2 separate regions of the Homo sapiens genome follow, and region 1 is linked to region 2. Evidence: promoter capture Hi-C in human tissues and cell types (Jung and others, 2019). All regions are on one chromosome and are shown on one strand. Each heading gives the region's core, a stretch centred on a gene start or on the middle of the fragment in contact. The rest is flanking DNA. Distances are from core to core; before and after follow the strand shown. Region 1 overlaps FAM3D (FAM3 metabolism regulating signaling molecule D). Region 2 holds the start of PDHB (pyruvate dehydrogenase E1 subunit beta).

Region 1 (4,618 bases), core at 1,901-4,400, 200 kb before region 2:
GTCCTGCGTGCTCTTTATAGGACCTGATTTCATTAGATTCTTATTCTGTTTTTAGATCTTAGACTACAGATTAGGCATTTTCAGCAGAACGACAGGCAGAATGACACGTGTTACAGGGGATAATCGTTCTCCTCTTAACCCCTAGGAACCACGGGAGCTGTGCTGGGACAGAAGGCATTTGACATGTACTCTGGAGGTAGGTGCCTCTGCTGACACTGAAGTCACAGTCGGGGGTGCGGTGCAGAGGGCTGAGCCTCTTCATGTGGCAAGGGACCTGGTGGCTCGAGGTACCTGGTGCTTCTTTCCACAGGAGGCACCCAGGAAGAGGTGCGGTGGGGGGTTGAGGGTGTCCTGCTGCTTTCGAAACTCCTTCTGGCCATCTCAGTTGGGATCTCCCAGACTCAGATCCTGAGACAGGGATTCAAGTGCAATGCTTTATTTAAGAAGTGAGCTCAGGAAACGTCAGATGGGCAGCTGGAACCCTGTCCTCAGCCCAGGGCTTCATAAGACCCCACCCGGCCCTCCTCCATCTCCATCCCAACTCATGGGTGAGCAGTCCGCAGAGCTAGGAGTGTGCTGACCTGGAGTCTGCATCAGGGCCCACGCAGGTCTCTTACCAGGTGTGCCCCACCCCCAGGCTTCTGACACTCCCCCAGGATGGAGGGGTGACCAGGGGCTGGCTGTTGCTTGATGGGAGGGTGCTGTGGATGGAGCCTGGATGGGCCCACTGAAGTGCCCACATGCGGTGTGCAAGGTCCCTCCTCCTGGTACAGGATAGAGCTGAGGACAGGGGCAACAGGAGATGGGGACAGGCCAGGGGCTGAGGACCAGACATTCTGCCTGGAGTCCTACTGATGTTCAGCGTGGCCTGGGGCCAGGTTTATGGAAAACGTCCAGTCTCCGGTGTCAGAGACTACTGGCGGCATGACCTGAAGCAAGTGATGCCTCTTGAGCCTCAGTTTCTTCATCTGTGACATAGAGGCAGCTATAGTTTCCACTCCATAAAATTGATGTGAAGATTAGATAACCTGAAATAATTGGTGGAAGGGTATCCAGCCTGACTGGTGGAGGGGTCCAGGCAAGCTATGTTAGTCTTCTCCCTTCCCTCCTCTTCCCCTTCGCTCCCCTCTTCCCTCATTCCGTCCAGATGACTCAGAAGCAAGGAAATCATCTGTCAGAATGAAAAGGAAAAAAAGCGTAAAGATGAAACTAAGCTTTAAAATGCCTTATGATAAACTTGAATGTAGCCACGGCTGATGGGGACCCAGAAACAGAAGCATTGTGAGCAAGTAGTCCTTCCCTTCAGGAAACAAAAGGGGATGATGGCTTTTTAAAGTGAGGTGATCATTAGCAGAAGGCATGTTTTATTTTTTCAAATACCCACCGTCCATCCAGACAAGCACCAGACCGTAATATCTGCTAACAACACAAATTAATGGTGCTTTAAGAGCTCCCTCCTTTTGTCATAAAAGTTCAAGGGCCATTTCTTTAGAAGAGTGACTGTGGTGGTTGACCGGAAACCTCTGTCACTGAGCTGGCTGGCAGCTGGCCTTAGTTGGGAGAATGGCTTCTTCCCCAAGGTCCTAGAGGTCCGCACTGGAATACTAATAATCAAGGCCAGCTTTGTGGGCCTATGACCTGGGGACAGGGCAGTCACACGGGGCCCATGCTTGGAAGAATCTCACACTTGACTTCATGCTCTGCCATCGTGGTCTTGAAATACTTAATCATTTTTTATTAAAAGGCCCTGCATTTTCATTCTGCACTGGGTCCTGAAAATTATGCTGCCAATCCTGCTAATAATTTTTGGTTCCATTAGAGTACGCTTACTGTATGCCCAAAGTTATTGTCACATTTGCACTTCATAGAGGTTATAAGCAGGGCTGTTACTCATCCTCATTTGACAGATATAGTCTCTGCTTTAGCCACTAGGCTGCTTGTTCCCAAACTTGAGCCCACTCGAGTTGCACCATATCTAGAATAATATCTGCATTATTAGTATTTTTCTTTAAATTGGATCACTTTTTTTCTTACCTAAGTAAATATATCTTAAAAGGAAACTATATTACTGCCTTAAATGGAAAGCTATTATCACTTGTTATGCAGGGAAGGTGACCATAAAAATAATCACAATGGAGGGCCCTGGGACAGTGGCTTATGCCTGTAATCCCAGCACTTTGGGAGGTCGAGACAGGCAGATCACCTGAGGTTGGGAGTTCGAGACCAGCCTGACCAACATGGAGAAACTCCAATTCTACTAAAAACACAAAATTAGCCAGGCATGGCGGCGCATGCCTGTAATTCCAGCTACTTGGAAGGCTGAGGCAGGAGAATCGCTTGAACCCAGGAGGTGGAGGTTGCAATGAGCGCAGATCGCGCCATTGCACTCCAGCCTGGGCAACGAGAGAGAAACTCTGTGTCAGAATAATAATAATAATAATAATCACAAGGGAAACAAATCAGCCTCTTCACAGTGAGCTGGATGCTGATGCCTCCCCCAGGTGCTAAACCTAGAGCTGTTCTCTGTTAAATAGAGAGCTTGGCAAGTTAGGGAGGCATTAAAGACACACGCAGAGCCTTGCTCCTTGACACAGCAGGAGAGTTGTATTCATAGTCTACTCGAATTCTCTCCCAGGGATCTCAGTTGTCTGAGGCCACGTGCTATACCACCTAAAGTCAGCACAGATAATCTGGGCATTGTCCAGCGTAGAATGGGGTCTGGGGTATGCAAAGGGCCCAGAGCACCTGAGAGATGATGGCACTTCGTCCCCAGAGGGGTAGGCACACAAGGGCCCTTCTACCAGTGGTGGTCACCCTCAGCTGCAAATCCCTGTCACGAGGGGAATTTCTAAATTCCAGTGTCCAGAAGCCACCCCACATCACCTGGATGAGTTCCCCTCACTCTGGTCACTCTGCCCTCCCCTAGGACAAGGGCTACAGGGAGCTCCACCTGGGATGCTCTTCCTCCTGGCTTCTGAGCTCAGCCCAGTGTCCACCGGGCCTAGCTGACTCCTGCATCATGGGGCAGTAGACAAGCATGAGAATGACCAGGGCTCATTTCCCCTAAATCACCAGCACCTTTTCCTTCCTCCCCCAGATGTTATGCACCTAGTGAAATTCCTTAAAGAAATTCCGGGGGGTGCACTGGTGCTGGTGGCCTCCTACGACGATCCAGGGACCAAGTAAGTAGAAAACTCTACCTGCCAGGCCACACAGTGATGCAAACTGAATACCTTCAAACCCTGCACACCCTTTTCTGCTCTTTTGCCAGATCCATTTTCTGGCAACTTATCTCGAGGAAATTATCAGACAAGTATGCAAAGAAATGTTCTAGGAGGTTCATCACAGCCTTCATTACCACAGTGAAAAACTGGAAACCCTCTCCCTGTCCAATAATAACAGCTGACTGGCTACAGAAACTATGACATACGGTGACATAGGATATGATATATACACAAATGAAGATAGACTGCATCAAAAATGATGGTGCGGAAAGTATTTAAGGACGTGGAAAATCGCTCACCCTCTAGTGCTAAGTGAGGGGAAAAAAAAACACTGTATGGAAATACATACACTGATCACACTAAGGGGAGGAGGGGTGAGACTGTATTTCTTAGTTACTTCTTTGTGATCTTCCATATTTTCCAAATGAATGTGTATTGTATTTGTAAATAGAGCAGTACTGTTTTAACACATCTCCAGCCCCATCTGAAGCCCTTTTAGAGAGGAAGTCTTGAAGCCCTTTACCCTGTCCTTCCTGAGTGCAGCCACGTTCTCTGGACACCCCCAGGGCAGATGCTGAATGGGGAGAAGAGTGGGAACCTTGCCCCATGGGAATCCCACCACCTGATGCCCCTGCGACCCACCCCCGCATCCTGACCATCCTCTCTGGTCCTCTGCAGAATGAACGATGAAAGCAGGAAACTCTTCTCTGACTTGGGGAGTTCCTACGCAAAACAACTGGGCTTCCGGGACAGCTGGGTCTTCATAGGAGCCAAAGACCTCAGGGGTAAAAGCCCCTTTGAGCAGGTGGGTTCTGGGCCACAACCCGGCCCTATGAAGGATGCATGAGGAGCTGGGTGGTGGTAGGAAGGAGTCACCCATTCACCTCCCAGGGGCCTTAAAATTGGGAGGATTGTCTGGGGAGAGGCCCCTGGCTGTCATTCACTCCAAAGGCCAGGGTGGTCTGATTGGCCAGGAAGCTGCCTTGGCCATTTCGCAAAAGCTGGGTCATATATAGATACGCAGGTATACAGATAATTATCAGAAAAGGAAGAGGGAAAAGGAGAAAAGAAGGATGATGGGCAAGTGAGGCATGAAGGAACGAGAAAGAAATGGAGACATGGAGCTGTGTGGCGGGGAAGGGGATCCCGGGGAAAGGAGCAGGATGCCTGTCCCCATCCCTTCAGCCTCCCTGGCGAGGCATGGAGAAAACGAGGAGGGAAGTCAGAAGGCAGGGAGGAGGCCGATGCCATCATCAGACAAGAGGTGCTGGAGGGGGCAGGTGCAGGGAACCGTGTGCTGAGCTCTAGGAAGGGCACCAGGACTGGGATGGGAGGATTTCTTTCCTAAGCTAGAAAATGTGGTCTTGGTCTGTATGCGTGTGTTTCTAAGAGGA
Region 2 (4,893 bases), core at 1,366-3,865:
ACCCTATATGGTCTAAAAAGGGGAGGCATGAATAATCCACCCCTTGTTTAGTATAAAATCAAGAAATAATCATAAAAATGGGCAATCAGCAGCCCTCAGGGCTGCTCTGTCTATAGAGTAGCCATTCTTTTATTGCTTTACTTTCTTAATAAACTTGCTTTTGCTTTGCACTGTGGACTTGCCCTGAATTCTTTCTTGTGTGAGATCCAAGAACTCTCTCTTGGGATCTCGATCGGGACTGCTTTCCTGTAACATCTCCTTTTGCTTGGCAAATCTGATCCTGAAATCTTTTGGTGCTAGGTTGTGGGAAAGGTGGGAAGGACTGATTCACTTTTTCATTCTGAGCACCACCCACAAACTTTTGGGGGCTGAAATCTCAAGTTCAGGAGTTTCTCAGGGATGCTGTGGCAGTCTAGGAAGTGCTGGCCATTCCTGAGGCCCTGGCAGGGACAGTTGGGACTAGACGATGGTGGCAGGTGAGGGAGACTCAGAAGGTGTTGATTCCATATCTTGAAGATCTTCTATCCATTTTACAGATGAAACAGTCCCAGAGAGTAAATGTCATCTCTATGCAGCTGTCCCCAAATTTCTACCTTTAGCCCTGACTAGGCCCTAGGCTCCAGGCAACCTGGGTATGTCCCAGTCATCTAAAGAATAAAGGCTGGCTGCAGTGGCTCATGCCTGTAATCCCAGCACTTTGGGAGGCTGAGGCGGGTGGATCACTTGAGGTCAAGAGTTCAACATCAGCCTGGTCAACATAGTGAAAACTCATCTCTACTAAAAATAAAAAAAATTAGCCGGGCATGGTGGCAGGTGCCTGTAATCCCAGCTACTCGGGAGGCTGAAGCAGGGGAATAGCTTGAACCTGGGAGGCAGAGGTTGCAGTGAGGCCCACTGCACTTCAGCCTGGGTGACAGAGTGAAACTCCATCTCAAAAAATAAACAAAAATACACTCTTACTTCCCCAGCTCCTGGCACTTACACTGCCCCAGGCTCCTCCCTTACCCCATCTATCCATCCAGCAATGACAAAAATCCAAAATTTTCCTCTGCTCTTCCCTAGCACTTACAGCATTCCTATTGATTCTAGCCCAAATAGATCTCAAAACTGTCCCCCTCCTCTCCATCTGGAAGTTGCCTCCTAGTCTGCCTCTGTTGCTGCCACAGACTTCCCAGCATCCGCCTGTTCTGCCTTTGCCTCCACCCCCTCCCATTCCCAGTCAGCAACCTACTGGAAGTTGCAAATTCCTAATTTGGCAGCCTGCAGCTGTGATCCATAGAAGGGAATGTTTGGAATGTCTTGGGGATGGGTGGAGACTGGGTGCTCAATTGTCCCATCTGACCCCCAAGGGCCAAATTAAGACTAATGAGCTTCCAGAGGTTGTCCCTATGGCCAAGTGTTTGGCACCTCCCCATAAGGGAGGAGACCACCCCTCATATTGTCTTATGCCCAATTTCTGCCTCCAAAGAAAGAAAAAGTAAAAACTAAAAGGCAGAAATGAAATCCACAAACAGACAGCCTGGTGCCACACCCTGGGCCTGGTAAAGATCGACCCCGACCTAATCGGTTATGTTAACTATAGATTACAGACATTGTATAGAAAAGCACTGTGAAAATCCCTATCCTGTTCCAGTCTAATTACCGGTGCTTGCAGCCCCTAGTCACATACCCCCTGCTTGCTCAATCAATCATGACCCTCTCACGCACACCTCCTTAGAGCTGTGAGCCCTTAAAAGGGACAGGAATTGCCCATTCAGGGAGCTCGGCTCTTGAGACAAGAGTCTTGCCCATGCCCCTGGCCGAATAAACCCCTTCCTTCTTTAACTCGGTGTCTGAGGAGTTTCGTCTGCGGCTTGTCCTGCTACATCCATAGGGCCGCCCTTCTCTAAAGTTGTTGTAACCTTCCCCCAAGCAGGAATCCACTTCTGCTTTAGGAAGCAGTGGGAAAAAGACCATGCTTTAGAGTCAAGACAGTCCTAAATTAAAATATCGGCTCATTTAATCAATTTCTGCTTCAGTTTAACCGTCTTCAAAATGGAGATAATAATAACACTAATTACCCAAGTGGGGTACTGTGAGAATGAGCTATACAGCACATATCTCAATGCTTGGCTCACAGTAGGTGCTTAATGCAATCAATGAAAGCTATGATGTGCATTATAAGGAATCAACAGACAGCACTGTCCAGGGAAGACTAGACTCACTCATGAAGTGTTAAGTTCCCCATCAGTAGAGCGTGTGCAAGCACTTCTTGGTGCCCAAAGGATTCCAGCACCCACAACAGGTTGGCCTAACTCTTAAGGTCTCTCCAGCTTCCAGAGATCATGCTCCTCAGGGTCTGACTTCTAGTCCCCACGCTTCAAGTAACACCGACCAGGCACGTGTGCCCAGCGTGCACCCCGCCTGTCGGTCACCGCCTACTGTCAATAAAGTTGATTTGAGGCGGCTCCAGGCAGAGGGGCACGGCCACCCACACGCCACCTCAGCCCGGCCCCGCGGCCCCTCACCCGGTGGGCGGGTGGGCGGGTCACGCAGCCGGCGCGCCTTGCCATTGGCCCGCGCCGGTGGAGGCGGGGCCTGCTCACGTCTGCCGGCCCCTCTGTTGTCGTTTGGCAGCGGATAGAGGACACGACCAAGATGGCGGCGGTGTCTGGCTTGGTGCGGAGACCCCTTCGGGAGGTAGGCAGCAGCGCGCGGCCTGTATTCCCACGCGACCCCTGCCCACCCTGCGTCCCGCCGTCATCTTCCTCTCTCCCTGCCAGGTCTCCGGGCTGCTGAAGAGGCGCTTTCACTGGACCGCGCCGGCTGCGCTGCAGGTAACAGGCGCGGGTGCTCGTCGGACGAGGGCGGGGAGGGTCCCCCCTTCTCTCGGGAAGGAGGCCGGAGTCGCGCCTGCGCTGTGGCCTTCCGGCGCCGTGGGCCTTGGGTTTGCGGAGCCAGCATCCTCCGTGGAGCTCCTGCTGCCTCTGTCGCCGCCTGGCAATTAGCACACCGGCGAGTCACCACCTCACAGCTGGCTGGGCAATGGGGGAAAACTAAGACTAGGCGTTTCCTCCCTCACTCCATGTTTTTTTCTTTAAATTGCAGCAAAATAGACCTAACTTAAAATGTACTTTTTAGAAGTGTATAATTCAGTGGCATTAAGTACATTCACCATGTTGTACAACCATTAACCACCATCCATTTCCAGAACTTTTTAATCATCCCAAGCAGAAACTGTCCATTACTCGGTAACTCCTCATTTCCCTTCCCCAAACCCCTGGTAACCCCTGTTGTACTTTTCTGTCTTTATGAGGTTGCCTATTCTAGAACTTCTTATAAGTGGCATCATTTGTCCTTTTGTGTCTGGCTTATCTCAGCGTAATGTCCTCAAGGTTCATCCATGTTGTAGCATGCGTCAGAGTTTGATTCTTTCCTAAGGCTGAATAATATATATATGTATATTTTTTTGAGATAGTCTCCCTCTGTCACCCAGGTTGGAGTGCAGTGGCGCGATCTCAGCTCACTGCAACCTCCACCTCCTGGGCTCAAGGGATTCTCGCGCCTCACACTCCTGAGTAGCTGTGATTAGATGCCGGTGCCACCACACCGGGCTAATTTTTGTATTTTTAGTACAGACAGGGTCTCACCATATTGCCCAGGCTGGTCTTGAACTCCTGGCCTCAAGTGATCTGCCTGCCTTGGCCTCCCAAAGTGCTAGGATTACAGGCATGAGCCACCTCGCTCAGCCCGACATTTTCTTTTTTTTTTTTGAGACGGAGTTTTGCTCTTGCTGCCCAGGCTAGAGTGCAGTGGCACTATCTCAGCTCACTGCAATCTCTGCCTCCTGGGTTCAAGCAATTCTGCCTCAGCCTCCCGAGTAGCTGGGATTACAGGCACCCGCCACCACACCCGGCCAATTTTTGTATTTTTAGTAGAGAATGGGTTTCACCATGTTGGCCAGGGTGGTCTCGAACTCCTGACCTCAAGTGATCCACCTGCCTTGGCCTCCCAGAGTGCTGGAATTACAGGTGTGAGCCACCGTGCCTGGCCTTGTTTTGTCTATTGTGAGTAATGCTGCTGTGAACATTGATGTGCAAGTATATGCTTGAATCCCTGCTTTCAATTATTTGGGGCATATACATAGAAGTGGAATTGATGGATTGTATGTTAATTCTCCTCTCCTTCCTTTTTTTAACTAGATTTTACCATTCATTATATTAAAAGAGCAACTCCTACATTCTGGATGCAAAGTATTTGGCAGTACTTGGCACCTAGTGAGCACTCAGTACATTAACACATGCAAAGACCAACTATGTGTAATAGAAATGTTACTTTTAGAATTCTTTGAGTTTTTAGAGAGAAGCTTGTTCTAGTGTTTTTATATTGTATGCTGTGGGCAGCCTAGGTAAATATAAAGGAAGAAAATCTTAGTTGAATCCCAAACAATTCTGTATTGACTGTTTTTGCATACCTGTGACAGGTGACAGTTCGTGATGCTATAAATCAGGGTATGGATGAGGAGCTGGAAAGAGATGAGAAGGTATTTCTGCTTGGAGAAGAAGTTGCCCAGTATGATGGGGCATACAAGGTAACTAAAATATATGAAAGTTATACAAAATTGAGGTCACTGTTACCCCCAGATACACTTAAGGGATCAACTCTTAATTGTAGGTTAGTCGAGGGCTGTGGAAGAAATATGGAGACAAGAGGATTATTGACACTCCCATATCAGAGGTAAGCCTTCCAGTGGGAAGCAGACCCTGGAGGGCATGTCTGTTAGTGTCCATTATCCTCATTTTTATGGATTTTCACTTATGTTTATATTTTACTTTATAGATGGGCTTTGCTGGAATTGCTGTAGGTGCAGCTATGGTATGTAATACTCTTTATGAAACTTATCCAAAGACATTT

The links. Contacts are between HindIII fragments. The study calls those that stand out against the background at their distance.
Region 1: a fragment that was not itself captured here is called in contact with the fragment with the promoter of PDHB in region 2 in 1 of the 25 tissues and cell types used here (IMR-90 fibroblasts).

What each region holds. Positions count from the first base shown.
Region 1 is chr3:58,635,705-58,640,322 of GRCh38, reverse strand. It overlaps FAM3D (FAM3 metabolism regulating signaling molecule D), which reads left to right. Exons shown (of 10, transcript NM_138805.3): 7 at 146-196; 8 at 3,098-3,182; 9 at 3,903-4,029. Among named protein-coding and RNA genes, the nearest start is that of FAM3D, 29 kb to the left of the region's middle. The HindIII fragment of the contact is 6,650 bases long and covers 1-4,618 here.
Region 2 is chr3:58,431,554-58,436,446 of GRCh38, reverse strand. It overlaps PDHB (pyruvate dehydrogenase E1 subunit beta), which reads left to right and starts at 2,615. Exons shown (of 10, transcript NM_000925.4): 1 at 2,615-2,679; 2 at 2,763-2,816; 3 at 4,463-4,570; 4 at 4,654-4,716; 5 at 4,819-4,854. The coding sequence starts at 2,638. LOC107986092 (a long non-coding RNA gene) reads right to left here and starts at 2,852. Exons shown (of 4, transcript XR_007095933.1): 1 at 2,205-2,852. RefSeq lists enhancers at 988-1,597, 2,640-2,859 and a silencer at 2,340-2,579. The HindIII fragment of the contact is 10,584 bases long and covers 1-4,893 here.